Regions from separate parts of the Homo sapiens genome. Here region 2 is linked to region 1. The links are contacts of gene promoters, found by promoter capture Hi-C in blood cells and fetal thymus (Javierre and others, 2016). All regions are on one chromosome and are shown on one strand. Each heading gives the region's core, a stretch centred on a gene start or on the middle of the fragment in contact. The rest is flanking DNA. Distances are from core to core; before and after follow the strand shown.

Region 1 (6,696 bases), core at 2,031-4,530:
TTTCCGTGGGAAAACTGGACAAACTCCAGAGAGAAAAAAACTACAATCACTAACAAATATTTTTCCAGCAAAACCTCTATTGCTATTTGATTATCCTCAAGCGAGGTCCACTGGTCAATGAGCCTCCTTCATTGCACAGCACTTACAATTAGCTTTTCTTCGCTTTTTTTTTTTAAAGATGGGGTCTTACTCTGTCACCCAGGCTGAAGCGCAGTGGCACAATCTTGGCTCACAGCAACCCTGCAACCTCTGCCTCTGGGGCTCAAGCGATCCTCCCACCTCAGCCTCTCAAATAGCTGGGACTATGACTGTACACCCCCACACCCAGCTAATTTTTGTATTTTTTTTTTGTAGAGACAGGTTTCACCATGTTGTCCAGGCTGGTCTTGAACTCCTGAGCTCAAGAGATCCACCCACCTTGGCTTCCCAAAGTGCTGGGATTCCAGGTGTGAGCCACCATGTCCGGCTGCAATTAGCTCTTTAGTGCCTCACTCTTAAAACGAAAGACAGACAAGTGTCACCAGAGGAAAGCCTTCAGACTGAAAAAGAGAGCCCAAACCAACCAAAACAGTACAAAGGAATCTGGAGCAAATAGAGATAAAGCGGGGAATAAATGAAAACGCTTAAACCAATGTCTATAATTTTTAGACTTTTAAGGTAATATTGCATCCATTCACTAACAAGAACAAGATGTTATATAAAAAGAAGAAAGAAAGGCTGAAAAAGAGAAGATTCAACAGAGTGGCTGGAATACAAATTGAGGAACTCTTCCAGAGAAAAAATGTTCAAAAGATGGCAATTGAGGGAGGAAAAAACAGCGAAGCGCATAGAAAGGATGAATCTAGAGGTTCAAGTATCTGACCACTAAAAGCATTCCAGAAAAGAAGCAGAACATGGTGGTAAAATCATCAAAGAAACAAAATGTTAAGAATTCCCAGAAATAGAAGACAGGAGTTTTAAGCCTGAAAGTATCCACTAAATATTTAGCACACATACCGAGTCATATTGTAAAATTTCATAAAAGGAATAAAGAGACAATCCAAGGAGAGAGAGAGAGAGAGAGAGAGAGAGAGAGAGAGAGAGAGAGAGAGAGAGAGAGAGAGAGAATGAGCATGAATATGAGAACCAAACTAGCCATCAAGTTAGAGTAGAATACTGAGCTTTTCAGACCTTCAATGACTCAAAAAAAATTTCCCTCCCATGCACCTTTCATGAGGAGGCAACTTAGGAACATCTTGAAGTAAAATGAGTTATTAAATCAAGAAATAGCATCCCCGAGATTAAGAAAACTGGACCCAACTGAGAAACATAGTAAAGGGAAGCTGCAGTAAAGCTGTGTTTAGAGTAATGAACCCAGATATACTAGGAGCAGGAGCTTTCTTGGTGGAAAGAGGAGAGGGCCTCTGGGGGAAGGGAGGGCAGGCTGGGATAGAGCTTAAAGAGCTCTGGGTGGAAAGAGGAGAGGGCCTCTGGGGGAAGGGAGGGCAGGCTGCGATGGAGCTTAAAGAGCTCTGGGTGGAAAGAGGAGAGGGCCTCTGCGGGAAGGGAGGGCAGGTTGGGATGGAACTGACATACTTATCTGGTAATTAATATTTAAATAATACCAAAAGTAATACTGAATGCGGCAGATCTAATGGCACATACGAAAATTTTGGCACATACGAAATTTTTGATAGGTACAAATAAATCTAGGCAAATAAATGAAGGCAATAAATAATTCCAGGAAAAACAATTAAGTTGTGCAAGAAATGAAACAAAATCATGATGTACTACTCTGATCAGCAGCCAACAAAATGTATATAGTCACAGCAACGTCAGCAGGACCATGCATCTCAAATGTGGGTATGACCATCTTAGGAAGATGGAGAGGAGCAAGGAAGTAGAAGTAAAGGTAATGGAATAAGAGAATGAGATCATGACCCCAGTAAATCAAGAAACAGCAGCCTGTGCATACTAGTTACAGATAGCGCGGTGATTATCCGAAGAAACATCTAGCTGCGCTGAAAGTGATTGGCTCTGCAACATCAGACTTCATCTTTGGGAGGGTTGGAATAGGAAACTGCTGGTTTTCATTATACATCTTATAGGACTATTTGATTTTTAATTATATACATGCATTACTTAATAGATATAGCAAAAAATGCAGGGAGGTAAAATCCTAGGAACACATGTTTTGAAAAACAGTTCTGGTAGAGTCTGGTTGACAATGCAGCAGAAGCATCTAGAAGCGTATGCTATGGTAAAGACGAGGGGCGGGGTGAGACCTTCAAGTCAAGTGAAACTACCCCACCTGACAAACAACCCTCTCTTCTTCTCATCAGTGTGGGATTATGTTGGATTTTTCTATGCGTTTGTAGGTAATGAAATGAACGTGCTTACTAGAACCCACAAGAAACCACACATAAAAATCCCCAGCAATGTTATATACACAGGTATATTTCTAGCTTTTTGCTGTATTCTTTCACAATTCTGTGCCATTTGCAAGATGTGAAAAGCTAGGACATTATGTATTGATAAAAATGTCTGAGACATGAAAAATATACAGACCAAGAAATATTTTTATTTGAAAAAGATTTAGCCAGACAAAAATAGAAGCTTCCATTATAAAATGTTGAGTCATGCAAAATGGGTAAGGATTGTACTTCGCCCCGGCAGGGGGTACATTTTATAAGCAAAGAATGTCAGAGAGCTAAGGCCACGAGCCAAGGGCCCAAAGACAGTTTTGAAATCCTTTGTCTAGTGCTCTTTCCACATCACCACATTAATTCCTGGGGTGGACAGGGACCTTGACAATTTAAGCATAAAAGAACAAACTGACCACAAGGTCGTTTTTATAAAGATCAACCATCAACCCCTGGGGTCAAGTTTCCAATCTTTGCTCAAGCTTTAGAAGCCTTTCAGCTTTGTGGCGTTATCAGGAAAGTCCAAAAATTGAAATTTGTGGTGACTAATTCCACCCCCTACAAATACTCAATGCAGAGCATATTACTGTCAGCTCAGCTAAAAACTGCTCAAAGTAGAAGTGATTAAATTCTAAAGTAGAAAAAAATTCACCTCCAAACACAGAAACACACTGGTACCTCCCCCGCACACCCAGATATTATTAGCCAGCTTTTTGCCTGGGGAAATGAATCATGAGACAGAAAACTGTACAACCCCCAAGTCTGACCACACTGAGTAACTGGGGTAGACACAGAGGGGGGCATCTGGGGCTCTCCCGAGGCCAAGGTTGGGACCCAGAAGAGATGAATTTCCCTGGGTGCACAGGGTGGGAGGGAGGTGGGGCTGGAAGAACTTGATCTGGAGGGATGATCCCGAAGGCTCCCAGTGAAGAAGGCCAGGAAGAGCAGAGGATGGTGCCAGGAGGATGATGTCGGGGGACACAGGCAGCTCATGCCTGGATCAGGCAGTGACTGGTAACAGAAGGAGAGTCCATGCTGGTGGGCCCAGGGGAACATAGGTGGTCAAGCAGGGCAGTACTTGGTGTCTGGGGATGCAGTGTGCGACCTCCTGTATTCGGTGCGAGGCACATGGGGCCAGCAGGAGCTGGTGTGAGCCCGGGTCTGAAGGGTGGTGGGATCTTAGTGGGGAAGACTGGGAAGACAGCAGGGAGGAAGAACTCAGGCTGGAGGAGGATGGGGGCCTGGGAGGATCCCTGCCACACTGTTAGGAAGCCAGGGAGCTTGGGTGGTGGTAGGATGGGAAGAGGGCAGGGAAACGGGGGGAGGGTGACACAGGCCCTCCGGCAGCAGCGGCTTGGCCACTGGCGCTGAGATTGGTATGAGTGACTCAGTGCCAGGTTGCGCCACAGAAAGCTGAGGCTGCGGATCCTTCTCCTGCCTCTGGTAGGGCCGTCTTAAAGGCAGGGTGAGTGAGCCTGGCTCCAAGAGGCTGGGTCCGCAGGCAGGGGCTGACGTGGGCTGGCCCAAGCCCCAGCTCTCCTCACTCTGAGTGCTTCTATGCTTTCTCACCTCCACGCTTCCAATCATGTTATTTTCCTCTTATTAAAATGCCTCCTTCCACGTCCACTTGGCAAACTCCTACGCACCCTTTAAGGCCGGGCACAAATGTCTCCACAGGGTTATGCGCCCCAGCCCTGTTAGTGACGGCCTTCCAGCTAGACAAGATTTTCATCTTTATACTGCCCTTCCCCAGGAAAGGGACATCACAGACACTCAGCTATTTATTTGCTGGAGGTGTTTGTTGAATTTTTCTGGTAGTTTCAGATTACACCTATTTAAATATTAGTTTTCAGAGAAGAGAAATATTTTTGTAAAGTTATTCCTAGAACATCAATGTCTGTGAAGGAAGTTCTATTTTCCTGTTAATCTTTCATAATAAAATTGGAAATGCTTTCTCCTGGAGGAGAGATGATCCCAACGCAAGAACAAATCAGTAAGCAAGAGTAAAACATGTTTTCCAATAAAACAAAGAGTAATAGTTGAAATAGGCCAAACGCACATATATTATGCTGCAATTTAAGCTTTCATAAAGTAAATTAAACAAGCCTAGAGGCTGAATTCTTGTGAATTGGTGATGTTTCTGTAAACTGAATGATGTTATCAGCCTGTGGTTATACAGTTCCCCTCAGAAAAATGTTCACTAAAAAAAATCACAAGTGTTTAGAAGTTAAAGGGGTTTACATTATGTGTTCATTTTTAATGAACTATTTGCCCAGTAGCTACAGCTGAACCAGTTATATGCCTTCAGCTTAGACTTTTTTTTTTTTTTTTTTGAGATGAGTCTTGCTCTGTGGCCCAGGCTAGAGTGCAATGGCTCGATCTCAGCTCACTGCAACCTCCACCTTCCGGGTTCAGGCAATTCTCCTGCCTCAGCCTCCTGAGTAGCTGGGATTACAGGCATGTGTTGCCATGCCTGGCTAATTTTTGTATTTTTAGTAGAGATGGGGTTTCACCATGTTGGCCAGGCTGGTCTCGAACTCCTGACCTTGTGATCCACCTGCCTTGGCTTAACAAAATGTTGAGATTACAGGCATGAGCCAGCATGCCCAGCCCAGCTTAGATTTTTAGACACTATCTTAAAGACCTTGCACTGCTATTCCCTACGTCCCCGCAACCCCCACTGGAAAGACGTCAGGTGTTGTCAAACAGATCTATTCTCAAAATTATTTTTTTCTGTGTGTATTGCCTCGTACTGGCTTAAGATAACACACTGGCTTAAGATAACACATCTTGTGTGTGTGTTAAGGTAACACACACACAAGATCCAGTGCTGACATTATTAGGATCTGAGCCTGGGACATGGCTGCTGAAAAAAAAAATCTTTATAGAGAATATCGATGGTAAATGAACCAATAGCAAATTGAAGTCCTGTTTTCATCAATGATAATTGAGTTTTTAAAAACAATCATCTATGATGATTCCTAAACTCATGTTTCTTAGTGAACAGACAGATACGTTGGACAGAGATAAACTATATATTTAATTTTAATTTTTTTTTTTTGGTAGAAACAGGATCTTGCTGTTGCTCAGGCTGGTCTTGAATTCCTAGGCTCAAGTGATCCTCCTGCCTTGGCCTCCCAAGGTGCTGGGGTTACAGGTATAAGCCACAGTGCCCAGCCTAGATTTTATTTTTAAGCTCTTGCCTTTAATGGCAATACATACTATGAATGCTTAGTACTCACTAACTTCTGAATTAATGATTAAATATAAAGAAGAGTTTTAGAGGAATCACAGATTTATGTTTTGTGATGGGCCTGGGGACAGAAGCGTGAATGTCAGTGCTGTCCCTTAGGACTTGGCGAGACTGTGAGCAAGTTGTTCAGCCTCTTTGAGCCTTGGTTTCCTTGTTTAGAAAATGAGAAAAAAAAATTGTCTTCCTCAACTTCAGGGGATTTGTGTAAGAATCAAATGAGATCATCTATATGAAAGTGTTTTATAACTGCATATTGTTATACAAGTAATTATGACTTAGAAACTTACTGATTTTGTGATCTTAAGATGATTGCATCATGTATGAGTGCTATATAATAAGGAGTCTAGTTGTTTGAACATGGGTAGGTGCACACACCACACACACACACACACACACACACACACACACACACACACACAAGATCCAGTGCTGACATTATTAGGATCTGAGCCTGGGACATGGCTGGTGAAAAAAAAATCTTTATAGAGAATATCGATGGTAAATGAACCAATAGCAAATTGGAGTCCTGTTTTCATCAATGAAAACTGAGTTTTTAAAAACAACTTAATTGCCTTCTAAAAATAGCTAATCTGAATTCCTCCTAACCATCATTGTATACTTGGGAGTTTCCAGAATATTTTTGAGTTTTGCTGCAGCACAGAAGCAATAGAAGTGGAAAATAAAAATGGAAATTAAAAATGAAAGAGAGAATTTGTTTAATTCAGGCTTTCTAAAATGTTAGTTTTTAAAACTAAAGCCAGAGTTAGTGGTGTATCTATATAATATATACATTATATATTATATATACATTATATATATAATATATAATGTATATATAATATAATATAATATAATGTATACAATATAATGTATATATTTTATATATAATATATAACATACAATATATACATTATATATTACATATAATTTATATATAATATATAACGTACAATATATACATTATATATTACATATACTTTATATATAATTTAGATATACATGTATATACTTTTAACTCACATAAACTTATTTGATTGCAAA
Region 2 (6,696 bases), core at 2,173-4,672, 57 kb before region 1:
TGCCTGTTCGTTTATTTAACAAGTATTTATTGAACCTTTGCTATCCACAGGCACTATGCTGGTGGAAGGTGGACATGCTGCTGGTCCTTTGACAGGTCAGTGGTTCTCACACTTCAGCCAGTATCAGAATCTCCTGGAGGCTTCTGTTAAAAACAGATTGCTGGGCTGCACTTCCAAGAGTGTCTGATGGTCCCCCAATTGTTTTTTTTTTTTTTTTTGATGGAGTCTCGCTCTGTTGCCCAGGCTGGAGTGCAGTGGTGCAGTCTCGGCTCACTGCAACCTCCTTTTCCTGGGTTTAAGCAATTCTCCTGCCTCAGACTCCTGAGTAGCTGGGATTACAGGTGCCTGCCACCACGCCTGGCTAATTTTTTGTATTTTTAATAGAGAAGGGGTTTCACCACATTGGCCAGGCCTCATGATCCTCCCACCTCAGCCTCCCAAAGTGCTGGGATTACAGGTGTGAGCCACTGCACCTGGCCCAAATCTGTATTTTTAGTAAGTGGCCAGGTGATGCTGAGGCTGCTGGTGTTGGGGTGTGAGGACCACATTTTGAGAAGCATTGGTTTATTCACATAGCAGTTGGTGACAGCACTGTTTTACCCAACGGCTCTTAACAGCTGGCATCTAAACTCCTCCTGAGGAAGGATCTTCCTTTGTCTGAAAAAATTCCTTTAAAAACCTGCTTGGATGGGCAACACCTTTGGATGCCAGCCAGCAGCAAGATATCAGGAAAGGAAACATGCTCTTCAGTATACATTGGGGAACTGGAGGGTTTCACACCTGAAGAAGAGGGCAGATGAATGAAGAGGGTGAGAAGAAAGGAAAGAGAAAAAGGGCCAGGCAGGTGAGGGGCCAACCATCCAAGTGAAGGCTTGTTTTATGTGCTGTAAAGCCTGTCTTTGTTTATTATCTTTTTTTTGAGACAGTCTTCCTCTGTTGCCCAGGCTAGAGTGCAGTGGCATGATCTCGGCTCACTGCAACCTCCGCCTCGCAGGTTCAAGCAATTCTCCCTGCCTCAGCCTCCCGAGTAGCTGGGATTACAGGCACCCGCTACCACACCTGGCTAACTTTTGTATATTTAGTAGAGATGGGGTTTTGCCATGTTGGCCAGGCTGATCTTGAACTCCTGACCTCAAATGATCTGCCTGCCTTGGCCTCCCAATGTGCTGAGATTACAGGCGTGAGCGAACATGCATTGCCTGTCTTTGTTTATTCTCTATTCCCTACTTGCCCTCCCCCAAACCTTGAATCCAAAGAAGCAGGAACCAAAGGGCGTAGAGGCCACAAAAAGATAAAGCTCTCTAGAAAACACAAGAACCCTAAGATGCATCTTGAGGTTCCTCAGGCTACGGAACTGGAATTCGTGGTGGGGCAGAAGCCCATGTGGCCTGGCTCTCCAAGGGGCCAGAGCCCCTTGATGGCTTCTGAGTAAGCCATGGCTGAAAGCTAAGTTCTCAGTGAGGTCTTGAAGGCCTGAACAATATTTATTTTATTTTATTTTACTATTTTTTTTGAGATGGGGTCTCTCTATGTTGCTCAGGGTGGTCCTGAACTCCTGGGCTCAAGCTCTCCTCCCACCTCAGCCTCCCAAGTAGCTGGGACCACTGATGTGAGCCGTTGCACCTGAAATTTTATTTAAAGTGTTTTTATTTTAAACTTTAAGCCTTAAAAGAAAGAATGAAGCTGAAAATTCCATAAACATGACCATAATCAAAATTACAGCTTATTGTATTAGTGCTATGAACTTTCTCAAATGTATAGTTTTCTTTGGTCTTTCTTTACCATAGTCTTGTCAAAAGAAAACACTAGTATTAGTCATATATTCCTATTGGGAAACTGAGGCATAAAAGATGAACAATAAAGCCATGGTTTCGAGCCCGGGTCTCCTGACAGACAGTCCAGGGGGTTTTCCTAAGGAGATGCTGGGAAAAGCCTTTGTTCTCAGAGCTCTATTTTCCTCTCAGATGAGGTAGCTGCAGAGTTCAATTTGAATTCTGAGCAAATTAATATTTGGAATAGTATCTCAGCATATCCCAAGGAGGAGGTTAAATCATTTTGTCCCTAACTTAATGTCCGACTCTCAAACCCAGAGCCTTAGCTTTTTCCTTAAAAACCTGCCTGTCATTTGCCTGCAGGAGGGAAACAGGGAGGGCTGTGATCAAACCTAACTCTCTTTACATTTGCAGCCGCATGTTACACTCTGATATCAATCTTGCAGCTGGAAAGGTCTATATAAGAAATAGCCACGGCCAAATTCTCTGTTTTTTGGCAAACCTTACTCCATCTGTCTTGATAGCCGACAGGCAAATCAGTTTTATTCTAAATCAAAATGATGGGTGTCCTAGCAGTTCCTGGCCAGGCCAAGGAGAACTGAGGATGGGAGGATGCAGAGGGCCCCTCTCCCCCTTAACTCTCCTCTTCAGGTATCTTCTTTAGCCAGGTGAGATCAGGTTTAAATTAGACTCTCTAACAGGGAGGAAGAGGACAAGACTCCACAAAACCCAGGCCTGAGCAGAGTTTGTGATTCAAAAGAGGTGAGCCTTCACACTGGGGAGCAGGGTACTGAGAGTGAGGCCTTCTCTCTCCCCATGTCTCCAAACACCACACATCTAGTCTTGACGGCCAAAAATCCTCACCAGAAGAAAGTGCTAGCATTTATTATGCCTTAATGTATCTGTCTCAGTTCCTTCTCACAATTACCTGTGAAGTACATATGCCTCTTTCACAGAAGACAGATCCTAGGTCTCAGGAACCTGAAGTTACCTGCCCTCGTTAATAGGTGGCAGGATTGATATTTGAACTGTGTTACTACAAAGCCCGTATTCTTCTCCACTCTTCCATCCCCTGGTTCCCCAAAGCCTGCCTGTGAGAAAAGAACAATGAATGACTGTTTTCTTAAATACAAAATCACATCTTTTTAAATTTGGAGATTATGGTCTTAGTTTTTTAATGTGAAAATGTCTATTCTTTGCCCCAAATCATGGTGACGGTAGATAGTAATTCCCTTCTCTCCTCTTCCTTTTTTTGCTTCATATTTTTACTTGACCAATGGGGAAAGGAAGCTGACAGTCCTATTTTGGTTCCATGTTTCTATTAATTTTTTTTTCTTGGTTCATAAATCAAAAGTCTGGGACCCCTGCTTTACACAGAGTAACTCATCACAGCGAAAGAATAGCATAGCGACTGGAACGCAGGGCCGCAGCCGTGTCCTAGGTAACATGCTGATCATTCGATTTAGGATTTACTAACTGACACTGTACAATTGGTTCGAGTTTGGTGATAAGCTTTAAGTACGACTACTAGGGACTTCTTAGTCAAAGGTCATCTCTTCTCTAATCTGAAGCTTCTTCTTCCTTTAAGATTCCCACTTTCCTTCCTGGTTGTGCCCGTATATCTGGGTTCTAGTTTCTTAACTCAATAGAATGTGTTAATCAGCTAATATTCTTCTGAACTCATTTTTATTCTGTTCTATACACAGTTATTTTTCTAGGTGGAAGCTTGAACATATTTTTTCTATATTAAATAGTCTCATGATTTTTACAAATGGTATGAAATTGCTACAGGCCATATTAAATATTACAATGCCCTTAAACTTGAACAAAGCCAGTCTGGGACAGACAGTAAGTCCACAGCCTGACAGGCAGCACCCCCTTGCTGACTGTACATTCCGTTGCGTTAATCAGCCGTGGGACAGAGCCACTGCTGATGCCGCTCCTCTTTTGAACACCGTCACCTGTGGGCTCAGGGCAGCTGCAGACCCTCCAGTCCCGGGAGCCACATCTTCAGACACAGCTCTGTGTCTGCGCCATACCAGTTTCAGGGCCTCCGGAGTGTCTCTCAGCTCTAAGTCCTGCAATTTCCTTTATGGATGCAGTAAATCATTCCACACACCATGGAGCAGAGGAACAGTCTGAATTATTAGACCTACCTGCTTGGCTCCTTTAGAGGGGGATTCTTATATTGAATGATTTTCCCTCTTCACTTATTATTATTTTTTAGATTTTTTAAATGTTTTTTTGAGACGGAGTCGCCCTCTGTCGCCCAGGCTGGAGTGCAATGGCGCGATCTCGGCTCACTGCAACCTCCGCCTACTGGGTTAAGTGATTCTCCTGCCTCAGCCTCCCAGAGTAGCTGGGACTACAGGGGCACACCACCACACTCAGCTAATTATTTTTGTATTTTTTAGTAGAGATGAGGTTTCACCACGTTGGCCAGGCTGGTCTCGAACTCTTGACCTCAGGTGATCCTCTCGCCTTGGTCTCCCAAAGTGCTGGGATTACAGGCGTGAGCCATGTGAAATGTTTACATAAAACACCCATAGAGCGTTCCTTAGAAGCTGACCAGGGGGATTCTGGTCATGTTGGGCCACTAGTGTTGGTTTCCCAGAGGTGGCAAGTCTCTGTCACTTTCTTTCTCTATCTCTCCTGTTTACTCTGCCCTCCTGTTTCTCACTCCAAGTTCTCCGCCTTCCTTTGCTCAGTGAAAAAGAATTAGTTCACTGCATTCATTCAGCCACTCACCCATTGGCTCATTTGTTCACTCCTTCATTCTGAGTGCTGCATTTAAGTGCCGTGGACACTGCAGTGAACAAGACAAGGTGTTGCCCTCACAGAGGGTGTGGTCTGGGGGGTGAGACAATGGTTAAATGAGCATTTACAATGTAGCGTGGTGAGCGCTACCCTTGGGGGGAGCACCAAGGGGCTTCTGGAGGCACTGAAGCAACAGAGATGACGCAAAGCGGCTCAAGACCTGAGAAAGCGCTGTTCAAGTGGCAGCTGCAGCTTGTTCACCCTCAGCCTGGGCTCCCTGGGGCAACACAGACCCAAGGTGAGCTGAAATTGTACCCGCAGTTCTTCTTGAGCAAGAAAGGGTTTTCCTGGTGGAATTCCACAACTGAGTTGGAAAAATAAAGATTAAGATACAAGCGTGTGCCGAGGGACAGAGAACGTGACTTCTGTGAAGTGGAGAGAAGAGAGCTATGCTGCACAAAGTGGAAAGGAAACTTTGTCACCGTTAAATAAATGTAACCAGAACAGACTCAAGGAGGGCTCTGAAGGGTGGAGTCCACTGAAGTTGTGTACAATTCATTATGGAAGCGAGACTCGAATAATAGCTGACTTAGTTTAATTTATATAGGTGAATCAATAATTTGCCTGAGAGATCCAATTTTGGGTTTAAATGATCTGAATAGTCTTGCCCTAAAATCAAGCTCTGTCCAGGAGCCCTAGTGATTGAGGCAGTGGAACAGCTCTGGGCTAAACTGGTTGGGTCAGCTCTATCCACGCCTTTGTAAGCTGTTTTAACCATTTCACAAGAGTGAGGCATGATGTGAGGTTAAGGGAGCTTTCCTGTGATGGGAGGCTGGGGAACGGGACGGCTCACCCACAAGCTAAGGGTCTGGCTTGAGCATTTGTGGTTCAAGTGCATGTATTTGCAAGGTACGGTTTGCCTTGTGTCAATGAACCTTTAAATGTCACCTGAGATCAGTTAAAAGTAAAATATTAAATATGTAGCAGCTGTGAATGTATTGTAATTTATGTGAAAGTGCTTTGAAAACTTAAATGCTGTAGTGTTTAACCTTTTTCTTTGGTAACAGACCATTTTGAGAATCTGATGAAAATATGGACCCCCTTCCCAAAAGAAGTACATACCAATATGCTTATACCTTTATGATTCTCTACACAAATTCAAGAAGTTCACAGATATTCTGATGTCACAGCTTCCCTGATATAGAGATTTATAAGTATAAAATGTTATTGAGTATTCTTTTTACATATTAAGTGAATGGTGGTATGTAGAGTTTTATATTTAACATGATCTCAATGATATTATATGTATAGAAAAGGATATACGCACATGGAACAGACTGGAAGGATATGCACTAAAATGTAAATAGTGCTTATATTTGGGTGATGAGATTGTGGGTGATCTTAATTTTCTTCTCTAAGTCTTGTTTGAAAATTTTTTCACTATTTTATTGTTAACAAGTGTCGCTGTGCCTTGTGACAGGCTATAGAAATACTGGGCAGAGCTTTCAAAAGCAAATCTAGGCTGGGCGTGGTGGCTCATGCCTGTAATCCCAGCATTTTGGGAGGCCGAGGCGGGCAGATCATGAGGTCAGGAGTTCGAGACCAGCCTGGCCAACATGGTGAAACTCCATCTCTATTTAAAATACAAAAATTAGCTGGGCATGGTGGTGTGTGCCTGTAATCCCAGCTACTCAGGAGTCTGAGGCAGGAGAATCACTTGAACCTGGGAGGCAGAGGTTGCAGTGAGCCAAGATGGCGCCACTGCACTCCAGCCTGGGCGACAGACAGCAAATCTAAAAAGACCCTGTAGTGGAACCTCTTTTGGGTGGCGGCTTTGTTCACAGTAGTCTCCCGTATTCTCTGTTTCACTTATTGAAGTTTAAGTTACCCTCAGTTAACCTCGGTCCAAAAATATTAAGTTATTTGGCCTGGGGGTGGGTGGTAGTGGGTTGGGGGAGGGGGAAGCACATTCACTTACTTTTATTACAGTATTTTGTTATAAGTGTTCCATTTTATTATGAGTTATTGTTAATCTCTGATAGTGCCTAATTTATTAATAAAAATTAAACTTTTTTCATAGGTATGTATGTATAGAAAAACACATAAGCATATACACGGTTTGGTACTATTCTTGAGTCCAGGCAACGACTGGGGGTCTTGGAACATA

Evidence for each region. Contacts are between HindIII fragments. The CHiCAGO score rates a contact against its expected background, and 5 or more counts as called.
Region 2: a fragment that was not itself captured here is called in contact with the fragment with the promoter of UST-AS2 in region 1 in 1 of 17 cell types (megakaryocytes); the score reaches 5.9 in megakaryocytes.

The regions. Positions count from the first base shown.
Region 1 is chr6:149,029,245-149,035,940 of GRCh38, reverse strand. It overlaps UST-AS2 (UST antisense RNA 2), which reads left to right and starts at 3,280. Exons shown (of 2, transcript NR_134599.1): 1 at 3,280-3,416. All of the region lies in intron 7 of UST (uronyl 2-sulfotransferase), which reads right to left. RefSeq lists an enhancer at 2,687-2,876. The HindIII fragment of the contact is 1,599 bases long and covers 2,887-4,485 here.
Region 2 is chr6:149,086,677-149,093,372 of GRCh38, reverse strand. No RefSeq gene overlaps it. Among named protein-coding and RNA genes, the nearest start is that of UST-AS2, 57 kb to the right of the region's middle. The HindIII fragment of the contact is 154 bases long and covers 3,346-3,499 here.